2 separate regions of the Homo sapiens genome follow, and region 2 is linked to region 1. The links are contacts of gene promoters, found by promoter capture Hi-C in blood cells and fetal thymus (Javierre and others, 2016). All regions are on one chromosome and are shown on one strand. The core of a region is centred on a gene start or on the middle of the fragment in contact, and the rest is flanking DNA. Distances in the headings are between cores, read along the strand shown. Region 1 overlaps LOC105378250 (a long non-coding RNA gene). Region 2 holds the start of HOXC6 (homeobox C6).

Region 1 (2,656 bases), core at 63-2,562:
TTAAATGAAAAAAAGAATGGATGATGAATAAATAAGTTATAAGGGAATAAACCTACCAGAGGGATAAAAACTTCCCTATAATATGATATATATCATGTCCAGATCTTAATAACAATAGTATCTTCTTTCTTAGCATTTTGACGTTTATTTCCAGATTTTTCTATGAACAATTTTTTACATTGCTTAAATAACATACACTTAAAAATAAAAATAATATACACTTAAAAAAATACACCATCATATACATTTTATGCTATTATAAACTCACGTAAATAGCCTTTTTATGACAACATATTAGAGTTCAAGTTGGAGTGAGATCATCATGTATTAACAATAATATCTTATTTTATTTATTTACTTATTTATTTTTGAGACAGAGTCTCGCTCTGCCTCCAGGCAGAGGAGTGGCGCAATCTCGGCTCACTGCAACCTCCGACTCCCTGGTTCAAGCGATTCTCCTGCCTCAGCCTCCCAAGTAGCTGGGATTACAGGCACGTGTCACCACGCCCAGCTAATTTTTGTATTTTTATTAGAGACGGGATTTTTCACCATGTTGGCCAGGATGGTCTCGATCTCCTGACCTCATGATCCTCCTGCTTCGGCCTCCCAAAGTGCTGGGATTACAGGCGTGAGCCGTCACGCCCTGCCAACACTAATGTCTTTAAAATATCCATAATGCCCTTACTTCCACATCTCTACCCATGGCCTCTTACTTACAACTGTATACCACTCATTAAATTTATTTTTTTGTTGTTGTTTTTTGTTTTTTGAGATGGAATCTCGCTCTCTTGCCCAGGCTGGAGTGCAGTGGCGTGATCTCTGCTCACTGCAAGCTCCGCCTCCCGGGTTCACGCCATTCTCCTGCCTCAGCCTCCCGAGAAGCTGGGACTACAGGCGCCCACCACCATGCCCGACTAATTTTTTTGTATTTTTTTTTTTTTAGTAGAGTCGGGGTTTCACTGTGTTAGCCAGGATGGTCTCGATCTCCTGACCTCATGATCTGCCCACCTCGGCCTCCCAAAGTGCTGGGATTACAGGTGTGAGCCACCGCGCCCGGCCGCTTCATTAAATTTATTTAACAATTGTTTGCTCTATGTTAAACATTGTGTAGAGAATATAAAATATTCAGGACACAGTCCCTCTGCTCCAAAAGCTTATAGTTGAGTAAGGGAGAAACAGAAGACGCACAACTATAGCTGACAATCAGTCAAAGGAGGATAGGAGTTGAAAGTAAAGAAATTGCTTCCAGGTAGGGCTATCCAGGAAGGCTCGGACAGGGGGTAACATCTAAGCTAAGCCATGATGATTGTGTAGGATTTCAGCAGTCAGAAATTGGGAGGAAGGAATTCCAGGGAAAAGACAGCTAATGGGAAGGAATTCTTGATTTTGGGGATCATTTGATATGGAACTGCTATTTATTATTAGAAATGCAAAGAACAGTGAAATTCAAGATAAAACTGCAGAAGCTTGAGGTTTTAAAAAAGGATGACAAGAACCAGGACCTGGATCCCAGTTCAGGTTCCATTTGTCCCCACGTCTATTGTATCCAGTGTTATTTAAGGAATGCATATAAGGTTCAAACAGGACAGGGTGCCCATTGTGCTTCCTTCTATATGTCTCTCATCTTCCCTCTTCCCCCACTGAGTTCTTTATTAACAATGAAATGATTTCTTAATCTCATTACTGAGAAAAGCACAAAGCACAGAAAAGCATATGCTACACAAATTAAGCTGGGTAATTTGCATACCTAGGGAAAGGGAGAAACCCCTCCCCCTTCCTTCTCCAGAGTCAATTTTCCTCGATCTTCTGACACCATATGTCAATAAATATCTATATTTCCTCATGCCCTGGACAGGAGATGCTGTTAAATGTCAAATATAAAGTAAAGTTTGTCATAAAAATCCCTCATAAAAAAATCTCCCAACTACCAGCATTGAAAGATGGAGGAAGGGAATTCCTGTGTTGTGTTTGCCTCCTAATAATGTTCAGATCATCCAGCTTTTTGCTTCCAGGAGCATCACAGACAATCTTTTCTTAAAGTTTTCTACAAAAGCATGCAGGGGCTTTCAACTCCTCTTACCATCCTTGCTTCTGCAAAAGTTTGTTCTCATTCTTTTTGTTTTTTTTTAATAAAACAGAACCACTGTTTAAATAACCAGTTTCTCATAATCTCAACTGTAGATGTATTTGTACATTTTTTAATTCTCCTCTTTCTGACAAAGTATAGAGGCCCACTTAGAAGCAAAGAAATAAATAAAACGAATTATCTGAGCACCTTCTATCAAGGGGTTCTAGGAGAGTGATGGTAGATGTGGGTGGTACTCATACAAGGGCGACTGTGTGTTAGGCTAGAAAGTAAAGGACAGGAGAGGATTGCCTTGTGGCTGCTGTTTCTCTTTCTCTGCAAACCTCCTCTGATTATAGCAGATTTATAAGGGCCCCAAAGCAGCCCAGCATCTTAGCCATAAACTTCCCAGAAAGAAAACTCATTGAAGTTCCCTTGAGAGGTGATGAAAAATAAATATCAGGGTTTGGTACAAACACATCAGCCAAGATCAGGGGTGGAAGGCAGCCAGTTCCCTATAGCTGGTTTAACTCATTCAGGATTTGTACACACACATACACAACATACACAAAAAGTCTAACAAATATGTTG
Region 2 (2,656 bases), core at 91-2,590, 240 kb before region 1:
GGCGATCTCGATGCGCCGGCGCCGCGTTAGGTAGCGATTGAAGTGAAATTCCTTCTCCAGTTCCAGGGTCTGGTACCGCGAGTAGATCTGGCGGCCGCGCCTCCGGTCCGCTCCGTAGCCGACCCCTAAAGATCCGGGCACAAAACACACTAAAAGCAATCAGCAAAGCGTCCTCTGCAGACTGTTTCGCCTAGCAAAGTCCTGACCCTCCCAACCTGGCCAGCAGCTCACAGCCTCCTTAGGGCTCTAGCCTTCTCCCTTTTGCCTTGCCCCACCCCCACTGGGGGTACAGCGAGGACCCCAACTTCAGACCTCCTATAAGGTGGGACCTGTGTGTCCCAAAGAAAGGTGTGTGGTGGGGGGGGGGGCGGGGGGGCGGGGCAAAAGGCAAACAGAAAGCTGCAAGTCTAAAAGCAGATTTTTGAAAAATCCCAGATAATGGGGATGAGGGCCCCCTTTCTCAAGGACTGGGCTCCCCCATCTCCCCAAGCATCCTAGTTCCTTGGAAACTTCTCCCCACTTATCTGCCTCTCCTCTCCCCCTCCCTTCTCCTCAGACTGACTCCACTTTGGGGGGCTCCCCTATCTTCTGCTCCCTCCCCTCATCCCCTGCCCTGTTCCTGCCCCCTCAGCCCGCCTTGGGGCCCTCCAATCCGTCAGGGGCCAAGGGGGCCAGGCCCCTGCAAGCGAGCGAGAGGCGAGCTGAGGGGGCAGAAGAGGGGGCCCTGTCTCGGTGAGGAGACGAGCGTGATTGTTTTTATGGGGCCATAAAAAACTCTCTCCGCCCGTTCTTCTAGGGAAGCCGGTCATAAAGCCAGTTCAGTTTATTTAATTTATATCTCGGAGCTGTAAAACTCACCACTGTGCGAATTCATTCGCTGCATCCAGGGGTAAATCTGGATACTGGCTTTCTGGTCCTGGGGCGCAGTCCTGCCCTGCTCAGAACTAAAATCCTGAGCGATTGAGGTCTGTGTGTTATGTCCTAAGGTGTTTTGTCTGCAGTTTGAGAGCATGTCTTTCTCCTGGTAAAAGGAATTAGATCCATAGTCATACGGCCCCCGGCTGGAACTGAACACGACATTCTCCTGTGGCGAATAAAAGGGAGTCGAGTAGATCCGGTTCTGGGCAACGGCCGCTCCATAGGTCGAGAAATGCCTCACTGGATCATAGGCGGTGGAATTGAGGGCGACGTTGGGGAGGACGTCCTGGCCCCCGGCGAGGTGGCAGGATAAGGAAGGGTTAGTGAAGTAGGAATTCATCCCTTTGCCTTTACCTGGTCGGTCTATGATTTCTTTAATATTTATTTCTGTCTCCAGTTTGTACTCGGAACTAGATGGTTATAGGGACGGCTCCAATCCAGGACAGACAAAATGACAAAGTCAGCTGACCCCCTCCCAGCCAATCGCAAGCCAGATGTCAGGAAGGGGGAAAAAAATCGCTTCTGCTTCTGTTGATTCCCTAGTTGAGACTAAGTGTGTGCTTTGAAAGTAAGACTTGGATTTCTTTTAAAAAATATATATATATATATATATATGTAAGGGAACTGGTTTGGTGGTGAAGGAGGGGTGCATGTCCCTGAGCAGGGCCTTGGGACTCAGGGAAGGAGAGCTGTACTACCAGGAAATCTCTCAGCCCCAGCTAACTTTGCTGTGCTGTGGCCAGAGCCAGGGCTAGAGAAACCCCTGTATTTTCAATCTGGTTTCATGTTTTATATCTGCCCCCTTCTAAAATTACATCCTGATTTCTCCAAGGGAAGAACTCCCTCCCAGCACAGGAGGGGGGTCCCTAGAAATCCTGCAGGAAATCCTGTTTTGACACTCCATGGAGTGAGTCCCATCACTAAACTAGTATTTTTTTCACCAATAATTAAAAAAAAATCAAAAGTAGAAAGAAATTTCATAAAACCTGTTCCCCTGAGTAAGTAGAGTGTGGCTGAGAGTCTTGAATGTAGTAGGGATGTGGGGAACAACTAGGTCTAAAGGGGCAAGACTTCAGGGTACAGTGGCAGAGCTGGAGTGGGCAAATGGGCCACGCATCTGCTCTCCTTTGCCTCCTGGCTCCCTTCTGCCTCCTTCTCAGGACCCCTCTGTTGGGAAAACTCTTCCAGCATTTTTGCCTAAAAGGGAAAATGTATAAAAAATGCAATAGAAAAAGGAGAAAAAGAAGTAAAATGTAGGGAGGTGGCACCGGAGGGGGAAAGACAGAGAGAAAGAGAGAGAGAGGAAGAACGAAAACTCTGAGAATCTTTCTAGAGACATCAACTCCTGTTTATGTTGGTGAGAATTTATTATTTGGAGCCAGTGAGGGCCTGTGGGGTAATTCACATAGGATCCAGCCAGAAAGAGAAGGCTGGTGGGGCTCTGATGGACAGTTAGCTTCCTGCAGGCTCAAGCCCCTGCCTTGGTCAGAAGCCCCCCTGCCCCCTCCAGACTCAGGGCACCGCCAGTGGAGGCGCCCCTGGACCTGAGCTATGAGGCTTGGAGACTTCAGAAAGGGGTTCTAAGGAGCTCTCACCCAAGTGCCAGTCACCCGTGGTGGGGATGGGCCTCTCAGCAACCTCAACGCCCATTTTATTCCCCCATCTTGGGGCTAAAAAAAGGGAAGAGACGGTTACGAAAAGGCAGCTGAATCCGAGGCTTGTGAGGGAGCCGCAGTAG

What was found. Contacts are between HindIII fragments. The CHiCAGO score rates a contact against its expected background, and 5 or more counts as called.
Region 2: a contact is called between the fragment with the promoter of HOXC6 here and a fragment that was not itself captured in region 1, in 1 of 17 cell types (M1 macrophages). The highest score is 5.7, in M1 macrophages.

Annotation. Positions count from the first base shown.
Region 1 is chr12:53,788,979-53,791,634 of GRCh38, reverse strand. All of the region lies in intron 1 of LOC105378250 (a long non-coding RNA gene), which reads right to left. Among named protein-coding and RNA genes, the nearest start is that of CISTR, 38 kb to the right of the region's middle. The HindIII fragment of the contact is 313 bases long and covers 1,156-1,468 here.
Region 2 is chr12:54,027,124-54,029,779 of GRCh38, reverse strand. HOXC6 (homeobox C6) reads right to left here and starts at 1,340. Exons shown (of 2, transcript NM_004503.4): 1 at 859-1,340; 2 at 1-125. The coding sequence starts at 1,258. It also overlaps a transcript of HOXC4 not described here and a transcript of HOXC5 not described here. The HindIII fragment of the contact is 15,214 bases long and covers 1-2,656 here.